Regions from separate parts of the Homo sapiens genome. Here region 2 is linked to region 1. The links are contacts of gene promoters, found by promoter capture Hi-C in blood cells and fetal thymus (Javierre and others, 2016). All regions are on one chromosome and are shown on one strand. The core of a region is centred on a gene start or on the middle of the fragment in contact, and the rest is flanking DNA. Distances in the headings are between cores, read along the strand shown.

Evidence for each region. The method cuts DNA at HindIII sites, captures the fragments that hold promoters and counts their contacts. A CHiCAGO score of 5 or more calls a contact.
Region 2: a fragment that was not itself captured here is called in contact with the fragment with the promoter of POMC in region 1 in 1 of 17 cell types (total B cells); the score reaches 5.3 in total B cells.

What each region holds. Positions count from the first base shown.
Region 1 is chr2:25,165,372-25,169,934 of GRCh38, forward strand. POMC (proopiomelanocortin) reads right to left here and starts at 3,209. Exons shown (of 3, transcript NM_000939.4): 1 at 3,127-3,209. RefSeq lists a promoter at 3,083-3,895, cis regulatory regions at 3,234-3,246, 3,312-3,485, 3,486-3,511 and an enhancer at 3,306-3,325. The HindIII fragment of the contact is 11,223 bases long and covers 1-4,563 here.
Region 2 is chr2:25,558,926-25,564,300 of GRCh38, forward strand. All of the region lies in intron 8 of DTNB (dystrobrevin beta), which reads right to left. Among named protein-coding and RNA genes, the nearest start is that of DTNB, 110 kb to the right of the region's middle. RefSeq lists an enhancer at 4,679-4,823 and a cis regulatory region at 4,750-4,751. The HindIII fragment of the contact is 8,244 bases long and covers 1-5,375 here.

The DNA of each region.
Region 1 (4,563 bases), core at 1,959-4,458:
CACTGGCCAATTTAGGCAGCATTTCGAGCAGCCTGATTTGATGTCCTGCACACAAATTACTCTGGTGATCACTATTACCCAGACTCCAGTAACTTTGGAGAGCTTCGTTTTTAAAGCAGATCTCAGTTCTTTGAAATCTGGCTCATCTTCTGGACACGTCACGTGTCAGATGTCTTGTTCTCTAGAGCTCTCAAATGTGGTCTGAAATGGCAGGATTTGAAGAGGATGCAGATGTGGAGGGGAAAGAGACCAGAAGGGAATTACCTCCTGGTGGAACAGCCACTGCAGATACTTTTGGAGAATCCAGCAAGTGCCTGTGGGCAGAAGCTGAGGTCAAGACACCAGGGGACAGTAAGGAGGGGGCATCCATGGTGCCCCTAGCCCCCTGTACCCACCCCTCTCTCCAGCACTACCCTCGCACTGCCAAATTTCCCTTAACCAGGTGGGCCCCCTGAAGCCACCTCGAGGCCGGAGATCAGCTCACCGCCAACCCTACAATCATTTTGGATTTCAGAAGATCTTCTCAGCCAGCTGCTAGAAAGAAATGTAATTAGATGAGAAAAGTAATTCACATTAAAGCGTGGATGACTAAGTGTCTTGTCACTCCTAATGAACGCTGGCATTTTAAAATAAGTTTGCCTAAAATAAATCTCTCATTTGGGGAGGCGTGGGCCAAATCTTTTTTATATAGGGGAGGCTTTGGAAGTGAAAGTCCTCTGAAGCGCTGATTTCTACTTCAGGAGGCCACTTCCTTCTCTCTACCCCACCCTCGCCCTATTCCCCAGGCGCTGGGCCTGCACGGTGCTAGCTTCTGAAGGGTTGCCGGGCAAGGCTGAGCATTTTCAGAGCAGCCATTAGATGGCACTGGCAGCCAGTGACTGGCCCAGGTGCGCTTCGGCTAAAGGGGCAACTGAACGAGCTTTGGTCAACCTTGGTGTCCTCTCCTGGCTCCAAGGGACAGGCTGTTCCCATTGTACCCTGCCAGTGATCTATTCAAGTACACAGCCAGAACTTGGTGGACCAGGCAATTAGATTAAAGCTCCAAGTTGACCATAGCACATTTAGCTCTGAAAAATGCCCAGATGTTACAGTCACAGAAAAATGGTAGTTACGTATGTCACCAAATGCAAATGTAAAGTAACATATTAGTAAAGGAAAAAACAAAATCTTACAGGTCTGATAGTTCCCTCAATTATATTTCAATTCTTGTCAAAGATAACTACTCTGGAGTGATTTCCATTTGCTAGAAGCAATGACTTCAGGCCTTCCTGGAAAGCCCCAGAGAGCATTTCCCCTCCTTATGCCCTATGTGCTGTGTTGTACAATGTGGTAACATATTCACTCCCACCCTCTCAGAGCTTATATTCTGTTGCTAAACTGGTTAGATGGCTGCTATTGCTAAAACTTCAGATTCTTCCCTGAAAGATGGTCTTGTGTTTGTATTGTATATTTTGCTTATGTGTATGTGTATTTGCTTATGTGTATTTTCAGTTCTCTACAATGAACAAATAGTACCTTTTGTGTCATTTTTAAAGCAACAAATTATTGGGGAAATATCAAATGTTGTGCTTTTTTAAGTAGGGAAAGTATTATAATCCAAAAATGGAAAGCTCTGGAAAAATAGAAACTTGAAATTTGCTCATCCTGAGATTAACTTTATAGTAGAACTACACTTATTAGAACTTCATAGGTGTGAGGGGCTCTCTATGAGCTCAACAAATCATTTTGCTTGTTACTGTAAAACTGCACGCTGGCCATGACCTTTTGTAAAGATTAGAGGAGCACAGGGGCCGAGTTTTGTCCTTACACCATGACATACATGCATCGAGTCCTATAACAAAAGCATCAAAGGAACAGTAAGTCATTAAAGTGGCCATAATCTGTGCAGAGTTTATAAACTGACACACACACAAAAAAAATCCACACACACTTTTATTTTCCTTGGCTCCTTCCAGCCATTCTGTAAGAACCCTCCCTGCCCCATTTAAACATGAAGAATTTGGGGAATCCAAATGCCAAGTGGACTGTCTCTCCTTCGCTGGAAACGCCCCTTACCTGAGCCTTGATCATTCCAAATGGCTGCCCGTGCCCTCAACCCAGGATCTGCGCCATAAACCGTCCACCCCGGTTCTGTTGAGGGCATCCGAAACTAGACAGTGCGTTTCAGGATCTAGGACAGCTCCCGCCCCGGCCACCTGTTTTTAACCCCAGCTAGGTCTTGGAGAGAAGAGACCCAACTATTCTGCATTGTAATTGACCCAGTTATCATGTAATTATCATAGCGCGGCCACCTCGGGTGCGCTAAGGTGGGCAAGGAAACAAGGATTCAGGGGTCTGAATCCGAAAAAATCCGGAAGGCAGGGCGTTCATTATGACTTTTATCCTTTTCTCTGCTGCCCCGTTTCCAACATTAATTTGCGATAGCGTGTATGGAATTTGACTTTCAAGATGTGACACCTATCCTGGAAACTGGGAGCAAGAGATACTAAAAGACCGGGCTGGCCGGGGGCGGTGGCTCGCGCCTGTAATGCCAGAACTTTGGGGGGCCAAGGCGGGCGGATCACCTGTTGTCGGGAGTTTGAGACCAGCCTGACCAACATGGAGAAACTCCGTCTCTACTAAAAATACAAAAATTAGCCGGGCGTGGTGGCGCATGCCTGTAATCCCAGCTACTCGGGAGGCTGAAGCAGGAGAATCGCTTGAACCCGGGAGGCGAAGGTTGCGGTGAGCAGAGATCACCCCTTTGCTCTCCAGCATGGGCAACAAGAGCGAAACTCCGTCTCAAAAAAAAAAAAAAAGACCGGGTTGTCCCAAGACCTCCTAGCAAGCTCTCGGAGCCTCCGGACCGCCGCGAGCCCCTGGGGGAGAGGAGGCCGCCGGCTCCCTGGAGACAGCGCCTGCAGCTTCGCGGCCGTCCGCCCAGGGGCCGGACGTGGGCCCTCCAGCTCAGCTACTGGCGGCTTCTCATGCCGCAGTCGGCGCAGAAAGTTTGTCGAGAACTCGGGACCGCGGAGAGCCAGAGGCGCCCAGGTCCGCCTTCGGAGCCGGAGCCGGCCGACTGCATCGCGAGGACGGGGACAGGGGATCCCGGGGAAAGAGCACGGGTCCCCCACGCTGCGCCCTTACCTGTCTCGGGAGGCTGCTCTCTGAGGGCGGGGACGCTCGGCGGCCTCTCTCGGTCGCGGCTCTTCTTCCCCTCCTTCGCCGCCGCTTGGTCCCGCGCTCCTCTGTCCTTATATACTTGCCGAGCTCTCCTGGTGGGCGCGGGACTTTGACCTTCCCGGCAGCACAAGGAGCAGCTCCCCGGGCCAGGGGAAGGGGGGCCGCGGGGCGTGGGAGGGGGGCTTCCAGACGGGGGACGAGCGCGGGGAGACGCGCTGGAAAGGGGCTGGAATTAGCACTGTCCTGCCGAAGGCGCACCTGGCCGCTCGCCCTCAGGAAGAACTTAATTATGGATGGCGTTGGGTCTCCGCTTAGAACGGGCGGGAGGCTTAGCACCCCCGTGTGGGGCAGGCCGGGCAGCCTCTGAGGTCGTTGAGGCGAGGGTGAAGTTACCTGCGTGCGTGCTGGGGCTGGCATCTGCCTGGTTCGCATTTGGCGGTAAATATCACCGTCTGCACACGGGGAGGCCTCCGATTTCCCCATTGTTTGGAAACTGTGATGTGGAAGTCGTGGGGAATCATATTCTCTCTGTTCCACTTTGGGGAGGGGAGGAGGGAGCAGAAGTCAGGAGCCGTCTTGTGGGTGTGAAGGTGAGTTGCACTGCTCCCCTGGGGCCTGCTCTCCAAGGGCCTGGTTTAGGGGAGGCTCCCTTCCGTGTCCCAAGCCTCAAGGAAAAAGTCCTGTTAACCTAAACCATTAAATGGGGAGAGGGTGATGCTGTGAAGAGCAGCTGAAGTGCTTTCCCTGTGGCCTCTGATCCCTCCCTTTGCCATGAGCTGGCAGGGTGGTCTGGGGACTCAGACAATTTTCAACATCCCCCTTGGCCCTGGAGTTCTGGCTTGGCTTTAGTTCCAAATATCAGACCAGAGAGAAGAGTACAGCACTCAAACCAAGCTAAGAGACTCTACCTTAACCTGGAGTAAATAAACAAAACCAAATTGTGCGATGTGGTGGGTGTGGGAGGGAGTATTGGGACTAAACTGGACTTCAAATCAAGACACTTGCTTAATCTGCCAAATGCCAGAACTTTCCTGATTCCCCATGAGATGCTCTTTTGGACTCCAGGACTCTCTTGTGGATTCAGCTTTTCTGGTGACATTGGCTTTACATTCAGCAATCCTTTCCCTTTGGACCACAAGAGAGATCCAAGCTCCGTCACAGTAGACAAGGTGCTTCATCACCCGGCTTTGGCCCCTTTCCAGGGCCATTTCCCAGTTCTCCACCTTGCATCCTGGCACTTCAGCATCCACAACATTCACACTGCTAGAACATGGCTTTCTTGGGTCTCCATTGTCCAAGCTGTTCCCCCAACTAGAACATCCTTCCTCTCTCCAGCCATCCAGGAGCTTGACTCACATCAAGATGTAGCCCATCCATCAGCCCCTGTTCTCTGAAGCCCTC
Region 2 (5,375 bases), core at 901-3,400, 390 kb after region 1:
GTCAGCTGTCGAATGGGAGAGTTTCAGAGCACTTCTCCCCAGGCCTCCATAACACCATCAACAAGAGTAAAAAGATGAACCCAGAGCCCTGCATGTTCCTGGCAACCAACACCCTCTCAACTAACACATTGCCACAGTGCCATGATCTGCCTATCTGGGGTTAATTCCAGCACGACCTTTATATCAGGTTATACTTTTTAAAAATAAGAAATCCAAGACTCTCACCTGGTTTTTATTCCTGTGAGGCTCAGTACATCCCCTCACGCGACCCCAATCCTCAACTCTCAAAACCCTTCTCCTTGTCTTCATAGTCCAGCATCGGCAAAATCCCTCCTCTGTCCGAGGCTTACGCATCAACCTCTTCTCTGAATGTTGCTTTCACCTACGGCTCTAGGAGGAAACCTGGCATTCCCTGAAGGCTCAGCTTCCCTGCAGCCATTTCAAGTGGCAGCTGCTTTCTTTCTCACACCCCTCAAACAACTAGACCTCCAGGTGGAGGAGAAGTCCTCCTAGAACCACACTGCCACTCTCAGATCATTTTCCCTTTTCCTTAAAACTCCGATTTTGAATGTCGTATAATCAGACCAAAACCCAAGTTGTCCCTCCTTCGCGGAGTCCAACATTACTACTGTCATAATTCTTGTTGATTTCAACATTTACAGTTGATCTTTCCAATGCACTGATCGTAGTGGGATGAATGACGGCCCCCCAAAAGATATGTCCACATCCTAATCTCTGGAACCTGCATTACCTTATATGGCAGAAGAGTGAATATTACCTTCTATGACAAAATTAACTTAAGAATCTAGATGGGAGAGGAAGCATTTACCCTGGATTACCTGGTTGGGCCCAAAATGCAATCAAATGTATTTTCATATAAGACAGATACACAGAGGAGAAGAGACAGATGAGAAGAAGGCAATGTAACCCAGGAGGCAGAGACTGAAGTGACACAGCCACAAAGTCAAAGAACGCCAACTGCAGCTAGAAGCTGGAAGAGGGAAAGAACAGTGTGATGTTCAATGTACGTGTCAAGGGGCCGGGCGTGGTGGGTGGCTCACGCCTGTAATCCCAACACTTTGAGAGGCCAAGGCGGGTGGATCACCTGAGGCCAGGAGTTCAAGACCAGCCTGGCCAACACGGCGAAACCCCATGTCTACTAAAAATACAAAAATTAGCTAGGCATGTTGGCGCATGCCTGTAATCCCAGCTACTCGGGAGGCTGAGGCAAGAGAATAGCTTGAACCTGGGAGGTTGCGGTGAGCTGAGATTGTGCCTCTGCACTCCAGCCTGGGTGACAAAGTGAGACTCCGTCTCAAAGAAATAATAAAATAAAATAAATTTTATGTGTCAATTTGACTGGGCTATGAGAAGCTCAGATATTTGGTGAAATGCTCTTCTGGGTGTTCCTTTTAGGGTGTTTTGCATGAGATTAACATTTATATTGGTAGACTGTGTAAAAGAGATGGCCTTCCCTAGTGTGGATGACCCTCACCCAATCATTTGAAGGCCTGAATACAACAAAAAGGCTGACCCAGCCCTGAATAAGAAAAAAGTCCTCTTGTCTTCAAACGTCTGCCTTTGGACCCAAACTGAAAGATCAACTCTTTCTAGGTCTGGAGCCTGCTGGAACTACCCACCATTGGTTCTCCTGGTTCTCAGGCCTTCAGACCAGGATTGGACCTATATCATCAGTTCTCCTGGGTCTCCAACTTGCCAACTCACCCCGCAGATCTTGGGACTTGTCATCCTCCATAACTGCATAAGCCATTTCCTTACAATAAATCTCACAGACATGCGCGTGCCCACCCTATTGAGTCTGTTTCTCTAGAGAATCCTAATACAAAGAGATACTTTCCTAGAGCTTGCAGAGAGAGTGTGGCTCTGCTGACACTTCGATTTCAAACTTGTGTCCAGCACTGTGAGAGGGTTTAGGACCCCAGGTTGGTGGTAGTTTGTTATGGCCTCCACAGGAAGCTAATATATCTGTTAATACATATGTCCTCTCTGAATTCTTCTTCAGCAACTGTTCTCCCACCCTATGTTGGCTGCCATTTCTAGTCACCTCCTACCTACAACATTTTATTGCCAGTTACTGTACATTACCTGAAATCTCAGTTTCAAGCACCTACTCTCACCAACTTCTGTCTTTCTAGCACATTCCTTCTAGTAGTCTGCCTAGAAAAATACTTCAACCCACTGAACCTATACTACATTGAGCCTACCATCTTTATCTTGTCTCCCTCACGGCCTAATTTCTCTCTTGAACCAAGCTCCATGTCTACATTTGATATTATATTTTCTTTGCACACACTCAACACCCCCCTCCTTGCCACTTCTCTTCCTTCGTCATACTTTTCTATCAAAACCCAACCCTATCCACTCTCTGCCTTCACCCACACAATGTGTGGTGGGAGTGAAATACACAGCTATGCTGACTGGTCTGAAGCTGAATTCACAACTACCAACCTCAAGTTAGTCATTCCAATGTCAGTTTAAATGTCACTACCTCAGAAAGGCTTTCCCTAGCCATCCAATTTAAAATACAAAATAATAGCTTTATTGAGTGATATGGTTTGGATGTGGGTCCCCTCCAAATCTCATGTTGAAATGTGATTCCCAGTGTTAGAGGTGGGGCGTGGTGGGAGGTGACTGCATTATGGGGGCGGATCCCTCAAGAATGGTTTAGTGCCATTCCCTTGGTGATGAGTGAGTTCTCAGTCCACAGGAGAGCTGGCTGTTTAAAGGAGCTGGCTCCTCCTCCTCTCCCCCTCTTGCCCCTGCTCTCGTCCTGTGATCTGCCTGCTTCTGCTATGCCTTCCACCATGATTGTAAACTTCCTGAGGCCCTCACCAGATGCTGAGCAGACATTGGTGCCATGCTTGCACAGCCTGCAGAACCATGAACCAATTAAATTTGTTTTCTTTATAAATTACCCAGTCTCAGGTATTCCTTTATAGTAATGCAAAAAAAGAATACATTGAGATACTATTCATATGCCATAAAATTCACCCACTGTAAAATTCAGTGGTTTTTAATATATTCAAAGAGTTGTACAACCATAACTAATATCTAATTTCAGCACATTTTCATCACTCTAAAAAAGAAACCCAATACTCAGCAGCCACTTCCCATTCCTCCCTCTCCCCAGCCCCCGGAAACTACTAATGTACATTCTGTTCATTTGCCTATTCTGTATATTTCATTCTGTCTCTATGCATTTGCCCATTCTGTACATATCACATAAATGGAGTAACACAATATGTGACATTTTGTGTCTGACTTTTTCACTTAGCATGTTTTCAATGTTCACCTATGTTTTAGTGTGTATCAGTACCTCATTTCTTTTGCTTACCTAATAGTACTCCATTGTATTGATAAACTACACTTTGTCCAGTCACCAGTTGATGGACATTTGGGTTATTTCCACTTTTTAGCTCTTTGGAATAATGTTGCCATGACCATTCACATACAAGTTTTTGTGGAGACATGTATTTTCAGTTCTCAAGGGTGTATACCTAGGAGCAGATTGTTGGATCACATGGTGAGTCTATGTTTAACATTCTAAGAAACTGTTAAACTGTTTTCCAATGTGGCTATACCATTTTATATTCCCACCAACGAAGTATAAGGGTTCTGATTTTTCTACATCCTTGTCAACACTGTTATGGTCAGTCTTTTTTATTTAGCTGTCCTACTGGGTACGAAATAGCACCTCACTGTGTTTTTGATTTGTGTTTCCCTCATGATTATGTTAAACATCTTTTCATGTGCATCTCAACCATTGGTATATCTTCTTTGGAGAAACACCCATTCAGATCCTTTCCCCATTTTTTCCCCCAATTTACTTTTTTTTCTTTTTTTTGAGATGGAGTCTCACTCTGTCACCCACGCTGCAGTGCAGTGGCACAATCTCAGCTCACTGCAACCTCCACCTCCCAGGCTCAAGTGATCCTCCTGCGGCCTCCAGAGTAGCTGGGATTACAGGCACCCACCACCACACCTGGCTAATTTTTGTATTTTGTGTAGAGATGGGGTTTCACTGTGTTGGGCAGGCTGGTCTCAAACTCCTGGAGTCAAGCAATCCATCTGCCTCAGCCTCCCGAAGTGCTGGGATTACAGGCATGAGCCACCATGCCCAGCCTAATCTACATATTTCACTGGTAAAATCACACAACATAAAATTTACCACCTTAACCATTTTTAAGTGTATAGTACAGTAGTAGTGTTAAGTATGTTCACGTTGCCATAACTTTTTCATCGTGCAAATCTGAAACTCTATACTGATGAAACAATAATTTCCCATTTTCTCCTCCCAACTGATAACGACCATTCTATTTTGCCCTTTACCCATTTTAAAACTGGGTTAGTTGGGGTGTTGTTTTTGTTGTTGCTGAGTTTTAAGAGTTCTTTATAATTCTGGATACAAGTCCCTTATCAGATACATGATTTGTAAATATTTTCTACTCAGTGGGTTATCTTTTTACTTTCTTGATGGCACCCTTTGAAGCACCAAAATCTTTAATTTTGTTGAAGTCCAATTTGTCTATTTTTCTTTTGTTGCTTGAGCTTTTGGTAGTATATTTAAGAAGGCACTAACTCAAGGTCATAAAGACTTACATCTAATCTCTTTTTCTAAGAGTTTTATAGTTGTAGCTCTTACATTAAGGGGTCTATAATCCATTTTGAATTCGTGTTTCATATGGTATAAGGCAGGGATCCAAATTCATTCTTTTGCCTGTGAATATCCAGTTGTTGTCTCAGCACCATATTTTGAAAAGACTATTCTTTCCTCCATTGGATGGTCATCACCCTCATTGAAAAATCGACAACAACAAATACAAGGGTTTATTTCTGGAGTCTCAATTCTATCTTCATGCCAGTATCACCGTCTTGATTACTATTGCTTTGAAGTAAGTCTTAAAATCAGGAAGTGTGAGTCTTCCAAATTTGCTATTCTTTTTTTTTCTTTTTTCTTTTTTTGAGACGGAGTCTCACTCTGTCGCCCAGGCTGCAGGCTGGAGTGCAGTGGTGCGTGCGATCTCAGCTTACTGCAAGCTCCGCCTCCCAGGTTCACGCCATTCTCCTACCTCAGCCTCCTGAGTAGCTGGGACTACAGGCACCTGCTACCACGCCCGGCTAATTTTTTGTATTTTTAGTAGAGATGGGGTTTCACCGTGTTAGCCAGGATGGTCTCGATCTCCTGACCTTGTGATCCACCTGCCTCAGCCTCCAAATTTGCTTCTCTTTTTGAAGACTGCTTTGACCATTTTGGATCTCTTGTATTTCTATATGAATTTTAGGATCAGTTTATGGGGTTATGCAGAAAAGCAGTTGAGATTTTCATAGAGACTGCACTGAATCTGTAGATGAAT